Linked DNA regions of Homo sapiens: regions 1 and 2 are each linked to region 3. Evidence: promoter capture Hi-C in human tissues and cell types (Jung and others, 2019). All regions are on one chromosome and are shown on one strand. The core of a region is centred on a gene start or on the middle of the fragment in contact, and the rest is flanking DNA. Distances in the headings are between cores, read along the strand shown. Region 1 holds the start of LOC105372035 (a long non-coding RNA gene). Region 2 has its middle 60 kb from the start of AQP4-AS1. Region 3 holds the start of AQP4 (aquaporin 4).

Region 1 (3,083 bases), core at 398-2,897, 41 kb before region 3:
TGCAAAGCCATATGCTCTATCACTTTTCAAGTTGTGGTGTCTCATCTGGGAGTGATTTGAGCCCCTGCCCCTCAACATTTCTTTTATGACTCCAAGATTAAAAGACCATATTCAATCTTATTTTTATTATATCTTTTTGGGGAGGCACAAAAGCAGTAACTCTTAGCAGAGGAGGAACTTGTATGCCATCTGACCTAGAAACAGATGCTACTGATTGGGAAGATCACAAGCAAGGATATACACAGTCTTTCTGTATCTTTCAAAGTAAAGATGGCCCTGACAATAGAAAAGGAGAAACTACCTCAGTACCATCCCAAAATATCATTTCATGTGTAATAAAATGCAATTATTCTTCTTTGACCAAAATAAAACCCTTAGTGGATCACCCAATCAAAAAAGTCAGTTAACGTACAGAAGCGTAAAAATAGCTTACACAAATCTTATGTGCTGTGGCTCATGCCTGTAATCCCAACATTTTGGGAGGCCAAGGCGGGTGGATCACTTGAGGTCAGGAGTTCGAGACCAGTCTGACTATCATGTTGAAACCCCATCTCTACTAAAAATACAAAAAAATTAGCCAGGCATGGTGGCAGGCACCGGTAATCCCAGCTGCTTGGGAGACTGAGACAGGAGAATCACTTGAACCCGGGAGGCAGAGGTGGCAGTAAGCCGAGATCGTGCCACTGCACTCCAGCCTGAGCTACAGAGCAAGACTCCATCTCAAAATAAATAAATAAATAAATAAATAAATAAATAAATAAATAAATAAATAGAAACCCATAATTATACACCAATTCACCAACCTTGTGAAGCAGGAAATGACCTTGTTCTTGAGTTTGGTTCTTCTGATTAATGTTCTTCATTGGCTCTCACAGACAAGTGACACCTACACAGCATCATTGGCCATGTGAAGCTTCAGTTTCTTAGGTGAAGGAGGAACTTACAGAAACTTACAAAGCAATCTAAGACCACTATTCTTCCCATTTTTAAATGATCTGATTTCCTTCCTCAATCTTTTATGGTTGTCTTGGTCAAACTTAAGATGACAGTATTTATTTTTAAGGTGACCTGACTTTATTGTCTCTTTTCAATGCATTTGATTTGGTTTTTGTAGAGGAAGTAGATCTTTTGTTCTTCATATCCATAATAATTGCTTTTAATAATATTTAATGAGACTGCATAATGACAGTAATAAGTACAACTGGAATGACTGGATTTAGAAATAGAAATCTTCACATGTTGCTAGGCATACAAGGCAGGGTCTGGGACAGAATTGTATGGATATACAGCACTAGCGAGTGGCCTAGCAGTTGTGAGAATTTGGTATTCCATGGGTACCAAACAGCAGGTTTTATAGAAGGCAGTGAGAGCTCCAACAAATCTTTCCTACTTGATTAAAGGCTGGTAAAGAGACAGTTTTTGAGTTATTATCATCAAGTATGTAGGTTCTGGTAGGTCAACAGCTGTATCAACATACAGAATGGCAGCCCTTGGATAATGCCCCGTGTCTTTAAGCAAATGTAGTTTAAAATCCCTTAAAATCCGGTGTTGTTTTACAGATCCAATGAATCTATTCACGCAATAGAAATGTATAAATCAACAAAATCTGCTTATTAAAACACTTTTGAGTAGATGGTATCTCACATTATGTAGCTCTTTCACGTTTATTTTTCTGTTCTTTTTTCCTAAAAGAGATATGCATTATAAGCAATGGGAAATAGCTATATTCAACAATAGTAAAAAACCCTCAATGTAATTTAATGTTGGAAATCAGTACTGTATGTCCTGGATTGAATTGAGAGGTGGAGATGAAGACTTTTGTTGCCCTAGGTACACTGGAAAATGTTGTGATGCCTGCAAGCCTGAAGTCAGCCAAAGGGTATCCAGTCACTACACGTTTTCATTGCTCCTAATACTCTTTGGCTCTAGGCTACTGCCTCTTTTGCCTAATGATAGGGCTAACCTTGACCAGGAGCCCTCTGAACCTTTCCCAAGGGGTTCCTCGGTGCTTATTCACCCTTTGACATCAACCTTCAGAGTATATGAAATAGAAATCTTAATGAAAGAAGGGAGGGCTGAGATTTTCCTGCGTGCTCATCTGGCTAAACTCCTAGCATTTTATGTTTATACTTGATTTTTAAGTCATCCTGAACTCTATTTGCAGCTCTGCTCTCTTTTATCTTTTCTTGTCATCACAACCTTTACTACAAAGCTTATTTCAAGGGAAAACTGTTAGAATTCAAATCACTTACTCCTGTTTCACGCTCGTCTGTTTGTTTGGGATTCCAGCTGACAAGATGTCCTTCAAATGATTGCTTTTAGTAAAATCAAAGTGACTTGAGGACCAAAAATTTTGATAACTGAATATGTGTTTTAGACTACTTCAGGGGTTTCTCTCGCAACTTGGCTGGATAAGTGTGAAAACAGAATTGTTAGTGATGAAGAGGGCTGAGGCCTGTATTCTAGATTGTTTGCAGAATTCTAAATCACTACCAGGAAAGGGCTCAGAGAAAGCCGTCACTTTGTGAGACCTCAGAAGCAACCTGGAGCCAGGTCTGTGGTTGAAGAATGTTTCCAAACTGGGGTGATGGCTATGGCTATTTTTTTTTGTTGTTGTTGTTATTGTTGTCAGATGCCTCAGGGCGCCAACAAATGAGAGTGGGTTGTTGTCCTTAGAGGGTGTTTTTTTTTTTCTCTTCAATTTCTTACTTTGGGGAAAACTCTGGAAATGCTGTGTGTTTTTGGAGATTTCCAGGGGTTATTGTAGGAAGGGTAGAAGACTCCCCCATCCACACTGGGGTGACCCTCTGGGAAGGGTAGAAGACTCCCCCATCCGCACTGGGATGACCCTCTGGGTGCCACCGACTTCCCTGTCTGCAGACCCTCGGAAGCTGCTGTTCCGGCTCTAGTGGAAGTGACTCCTCATGATTAGAAAAGGCATTTTCAGCACAAAACTCTATAGTTTTGCATCATGCTGCCTTACTCTTCTTTCCATTAGGGTGAACAAATGTTTTATAACAACTTATCAGGTATCTACTTGTCACCTATAATAAAAACGCTGAGCACTTGCTATGGACAAGGGA
Region 2 (2,972 bases), core at 40-2,539, 60 kb before region 3:
ATGTAAGATCTGGGTAGAGAGAGCATACTTGGGGGCGCAGCCTTCAAATAACACATCTTGATGAGACGTGTGCATAAAATGCAAAGAAGAAATAAGTGGCCAGAGAAAATGATGGTGCAGAAAATGTGTTTCTTAAAGAAGGGTTGTTAATTTTAATGTTTGGTTCTAAAACTCTTTGCTGCACCCCCATTTAACAGCTAAAACATAGGACTCAGGGAGAAAATGAAGGTGTCGGGAAATTTAGGCTGAAATTCCTGGGTTGGAAGGAGCACAGTAAATGAAGCCCAGCCTTTTTCGTGTTTTATATTCATTAAGCATAGCAATGTACTGATAACGTTTTTTAAGCTGTCATTACATCTAGTTGATATTTAATCTGAATTTTAATATTTAAAAGGATACTCAGGATCTTCATTAGAGCCATAAAAAATTCAAGCAGGGCTACTGTTTGGAACTGTAACAAAGCAATTTATACTCCTATCATTTCACTTAAATTAGAGTGAGGAAAGAAATTTAGATTTTTTGAAAAGTGCAATCAGCCTCTTAAATAAAAAAGCAACTGGTGTCACCATTAGGTGGCAGGCACACTGCAGCCAGCTGTCACTTAGGCTGGGTGGAAGCGAGCCTGGACACCAAGGCAGAAATTCCTGGTCCCTTTCCTGGATCTTTCTTTCAGTCATTTAAGCTTGCAGAAGACAATGTGCATGGAAACCAGCAGCAGGCATTTTAATGCACCTTTGACACTGTTTCAACATTTGGTCTTCAGCTGCATGGACTGCTCATTCAGCTTCTCTTTGCCCTCCTGTGGTGTCTGAGCTGGCTAGCCCCTGCTGCTTTAGTTCTTTCAGCTGTAGGATTTTCATCACATGTGCATGTCAGAATCTGCACTGGGTTTGGACTGAAGACTCTGTCTTTTGTATTCGCTCCATTTCCAGTGGGTCAGGAGAATTAGTGTAATGGGCTGGTGTGTTTTATAACAAATGCCATTCTAGAATTCCATCCTTGTCGTCTAATGTTTGGGCAAAAAGTAGAAAAGAATAGCTAAAAAATGAAATCATGGTAATTGCTAGGACTCTCAGCATCTGCTAATGTAATACTTTTCCTTTAATTATGTCCCATAATATGTAACCTTTACTTTCTCAGGTCACACCGGCTAGAGGGACAAATTGCAAAGTGCAGTTTACAATCATAAGGGTGGCAATAACAGTCTTTGGTTTCAGATCCTCCACCCAGCAGAATCTAAGGGCGAAGTCCCTGAATTCCCCATCCTACTCCTGACAGTTTTTGGCAGCACAGGCTCTTCTCCTTGGAGGCCATTACAGTTTCTTTTTATTATACCTGGCACTATTCACTCTGATTTCTCACCCAAAGAAGAGACACCTGTGCTGCCCACGCTGGCCCTGCCTCTCCTGCTGTTATTAATATTTTGTTGAGCCCATCACTCCTATGGCAAAAGGTACTCTTGCTGGGCTCCCAGCAAGAGGCTGACCTTGGATTTTTAGTATTTTATAGTTCTCCGACTCTAGGAATTTGGAATGCATTCCCCTGAAGCTGGATTGGAGAAGATTTAAGTAGCAGCACCAATGATCAAATCCAGAAATGTTCCTTTCCACCAACAGGCAAATTATACTCCAGAATAAAGCCCTGGACTCTTGAATCATGACCTATTCTTCCTCTAGCGGTACAGCTTGGGTTCAGATATTGGACTTTCCGCTTCGTAGGAGTGTGGCCTTGGATAAGGTAACTTCTCTCTGCCTCAGTTTTCTCATATGTAATATAAGGGCAATCACAGGATCAACTTCCTAGAGTTGCTGTGAGGATTAGATGAGTTAATGCATGTAATGGGCTGATAGTGCCTGGCTCATAGCAAGCACATAACCAATGTCAGCTATTAGTATTATTAAAAAATTTTGATCTATGTATTCCGGGGACTGACCACTAGTTTCTATTTTTTCCAAAGAGGTAATTGAGATTTCATGCCCAGGGTCTCTGATGTTTTGCCCCAGTATACCAGAATGCTAGAATAATGAGGGCAGCTTTAGGTTGCTATCTCTACCCTCTCACCCCTCACTCTGGAAAGTTCCATGAAATAAACATGTTTTTAAAAAAAGTTCTGATATGAAAATTACGATTGATCTGATGCCAAGACTGGCAAGTAAGAGTAAAGCCCTCAGAGTTTGCTTTGTATTTGGCAGTCTAGTTAGACATTAATGTATTTATATTTTAGCCATCAATCTCCCTTTCTCCTTAAAAGTACTTCAAGTTTCTTTTGGGGAAACTACCTTCCTTCCTTCTCAGCCCTGTGTGATTGGGTAAGATTGAACCTACCCTGGTTCCAGAGTGGCCCCTGATTGGCCAATGTCAGGACCATCCCATCTGCTCTGGCCCTGTGATTGGCTCATTGAAGGATCTGTAACAAATCAGGACCATAGAGACTTGAGGAGCTATTTGCTGGGGTTTCTGGGTAAGGAAAATGTAGCACTTCTTCCAAACGCTATAGGAAGAGACTCCTCCCTTCCTCTGCCTGAAGAAGCCTGAGAATGTGAGATCTGGAGTGAGGCAGCTTTAGGAGCAAGTCAGCCCAACGGCGAGAGATGGAACTTAGCCCTGGGCAATATCTTTCCAGTTGCTGGATCCAAACTCACCGCATCTTCCTCCAGCCTTCTCAGCTACGATTCAACAAATATCCTTTATTAATTTAGTCCGAGTTGAGGGTTTTTGAGTGTGTGTGTGTGTGTCACTTGCAGCATAAATGGTGTGTCCCTACTGAAACGCTGCATTACAGTTAAAACATTCCTATGGCAAACAGAAACCCTTCATGATTTCAGAAGATAAAACTTGTAAACTATTCTTGCTATCTCATTTGGATGTAGACGTCTAAAATGTTGAAAAATTTCAAAGCTTTGGGTACTTACATATGACCTCCCTTGATGTACAAACCCAGAGTGGAATCATCTGTTAAATTGAATTTCCAG
Region 3 (3,179 bases), core at 564-3,063:
CCCTCTTGCTGTCATTAGATCTTTGGAGCAGAGAAGGGGTGGTTTGACGATATTGATGCCAACTGCTCATTCTGGCAGGAAATGGCTAGGATTCCCCTTTTGGGGGGGGGGGGCAATTACCCCAGTTACCCTATCATCTAAGACTTTTGCCCTTGTCCTTTGCCTGTGATAGTCATGAGAGCCAAGAAGTATGGAGAGTATTTACCAGAGAATCTAATTGCAGAGGACCACGTAAGGGGTTAGGCAAGAAAGCCAAGTACTTTAAGAGATTAGTATTATTGTGGCTTTCCCTTTGACAAATTGCGGGGCCCTCATTTCCCCATGTCACTGAATGTTCCCGGGAACCTGCTTTCTGCGTGGGTAGTGAGGAAATGCAGTGCCAAAAAGGGTGAGGGGAATTTCCAGCTCAGCCTAGCCCTTAGTTTGCTATGGGGCTTTGCTTTAGAGGTGGAGAGAGAAAAACCCTTTCTTGCCCAGGCCCGGGTGGCAGGATAAAGGAAGAGCTGGCTCCACAGGGGGGTGGCCAGCCACATCCCACGCATCCCCTGCCCCAGTGAAGCGAATCTCAGAAGTATGAAAAACCCCAGGTGGGATGACAACGACATCATACTCTCTAGAGGAAAAGAATGTAAAGAGACAAAAACGATGGTTGCAATGGGGCAGGGAGGGCACCCTGGAGGAGACACTAAAAATATTCCCAAAGACGGTAAACTCAGAAAAGTCACATATTGAAGAAGTTAGGAGAGTCACTTCTGAACTCACCGGCAGCCCAGGGCTGTAGCCGGGATGGCAAAGGGGGCAAAATGCGATCATAGGTGCTGTCGTTTGTGGTCAGGGTTAGGGGAGAAGGAGGAGGACAAAACAGTAGGCTAAGGAAGCTAGGTGGGCAGGAAACGTCCTTTTCAGCCCCGCAGGAGACACCAGAAGAGGTGGGACCCAGAAAAGGCCAGCCCCGCTGCTCACCCCCTTCACCTCTCACTTCTGCCATTTCCGGAGTTCTCTCCCTGCTTGGCCTGTCATGCACCTGTTTACCTCTCCAGAGGTAGTTGCTCTTTCAGCTTCAAATATTCATCAACCAGAGAAATTTAAAACAGTGCAAAACACCAACACAAAACATAAACATGCTCTTTAAGAATGTTTTTAGCTTTTTTTTTTTTTTAAATCCACAAAAATCTGATCTTCTTCCAAGGCAGATGGACCAGCCTCACTTGGCTGTGAACCGTGAAGTTTGCTGGCAGCATATACATATCTCTGGCCTTATGAGGGCTCACCCTAGCGTCACCCATAGCACCCTGCTTTTATTGTCAGTGTTCCCTTATATGTTCACAGTCACTGGAAATGATCAACACAATTAGATTTGCTTCTTTTGCCCCAGAACAAAGCGGGTTTGTTGATGTACTGAATCGGACACATTACTTTCTAGCTGAACACTCAGCTTCATCCACTCCAGGACAGCTGAGCGTCTGGGTGAGTAATTTTTCCGAAGAAATGTACTATAGCTAGATTCACCTCCATAGGGTAATTTTCCTGGGCTTTTGCAGATCTGAAACATATGGAGGATTTGGCTAAAAAGCATCCCTTTTCTTCTACCTTCTCTATGCCTCTCTTCTGAAAATGCCCAGTACTCAGATCTAAAAGAACCACCCACCTGCCCTATAGCTGCCTTCCAGATTCTGCCTAAGAAGGCACAAACATCTATAATAAAAGAGACAGTTTCATCTTTTGGCCCTAAGCGTTGTTCCCTTAAGGCAAAGAAGGACTTACCCCCACCGCCTTGCTGTGGGTCTGTCACTCATGCCTTCCCCAGCCAGAGTGCAGCTCTCATTGCCTGCCCCGCAGCTCCCTGTGTGCTGGGAGTCAGATTACGGCCACTTGTCTGATTGGGTTTTTGGAGTGTTAGGGGTGGAAAGATTCTGCACCATGTGGCAATCGCTAAGTTATATTTGAACTTGAAGTAGCTTTTCTGTACCTGATCACTGTAGACACAGGGCATTTCAGGAATGCAAAAACATTTACTTAATTTTTTTTTTTTTGAGACAGTAATTTTTGAAAATGAGGATTTCCTTAAATCTTTATTTGAATTCTTTCTACCATGAAGAATTGTTCAGAATTTGTCTTGTTTGGTTATATGTTGTAGTTGAAATTGGGCAATTATTAGAAAATGAATTTGTATAATCCAGCAGTTAACATGAATTTAGATAGAGACTTCAGTGCATTTAGTTTTTAGCCAATGAATTCTGTTTGAAGTTTTTGATCTGAGAAGAAGCATTATAAGAACAATATATAACTGCAGCTCCATTTATAGCACAGGCAGCACTGATTTGGACAATAAAAATAAGGAAACATAGGAAATACAGGAAAAAAGACTGCTCTAGGGTGCTCACCTGACTGTTACATTAATAATCTGGGGATAAGAAGTAGCAAACTTAAAAAATATCAAAGTTGGATGGGGACGAAATTATGGGGAACTGTAGGTAAATTTAACCTCTGGAAACTTAGGGACAGGACTGATTTTATAATTTACTGGTCCCAGTGCAAAATGAATGCAGGACACCTTGGTAAAACACTATTTAAATTTCAAGATTGCGACAGCAGAGCATAAATAAAGGCTGGGTGCTCCTAAAGGCAGGACCTTGTGCAGCTGCGCAGGCTGCATGCTTATGAAGACGTCCCTGCCGAAGGAGTTTGGTGAACTCTAGAAGGGTCTAACCATTAGCTACCTGCATCACCATCTCATTATTATTTTTTCTTTAAACAGATCTTAGGTGCATGGGATTGGAATAATCAGAATTCCTGATTTATGACACTCTGTCATCACTCGTGCATGTATGGCCCTCTTATTTTCTAATAGTTAATTATAATGGCTTTTAAATAATGTAATGAACATCTATGAACCCACCACTCAACCCAACATCTAGAACAATGATAATAACTCACATTACCTACGGATGCCTCCCTTTTCCCACTTTATATTTCAGATTGGATTATTTTTTTCCAGAATGAAGTATGACAAGAAAGAAATACATGAGAGAAGAAAGACTGTTATACTTTTAAATCCCAGTTACAGTTTTTTTGTTTTGTTTTCATTTGCGTACTTGAGACATGGGAATGGGTGAAGAGCTCTCATTAGAAAGAGGAATTCAAAATTTGAGTGTGACTTTCAGAGGAGCACTTTATTA

Evidence for each region. The method cuts DNA at HindIII sites, captures the fragments that hold promoters and counts their contacts. A contact is called where the count stands out against the background at its distance.
Region 1: a contact is called between a fragment that was not itself captured here and the fragment with the promoter of AQP4 in region 3, in 2 of the 25 tissues and cell types used here (adrenal gland and psoas muscle).
Region 2: a contact is called between a fragment that was not itself captured here and the fragment with the promoter of AQP4 in region 3, in 1 of the 25 tissues and cell types used here (dorsolateral prefrontal cortex).

The regions. Positions count from the first base shown.
Region 1 is chr18:26,822,716-26,825,798 of GRCh38, forward strand. It overlaps LOC105372035 (a long non-coding RNA gene), which reads right to left and starts at 2,437. Exons shown (of 3, transcript NR_188008.1): 1 at 2,253-2,437; 2 at 804-1,685. The HindIII fragment of the contact is 3,839 bases long and covers 1-3,083 here.
Region 2 is chr18:26,804,042-26,807,013 of GRCh38, forward strand. No RefSeq gene overlaps it. Among named protein-coding and RNA genes, the nearest start is that of AQP4-AS1, 60 kb to the right of the region's middle. The HindIII fragment of the contact is 4,775 bases long and covers 1-2,972 here.
Region 3 is chr18:26,863,894-26,867,072 of GRCh38, forward strand. AQP4 (aquaporin 4) reads right to left here and starts at 1,814. Exons shown (of 5, transcript NM_001650.7): 1 at 1,765-1,814. The coding sequence starts at 1,796. AQP4-AS1 (AQP4 antisense RNA 1) reads left to right here and starts at 1,415. Exons shown (of 8, transcript NR_026908.1): 1 at 1,415-1,467. The HindIII fragment of the contact is 8,928 bases long and covers 1-3,179 here.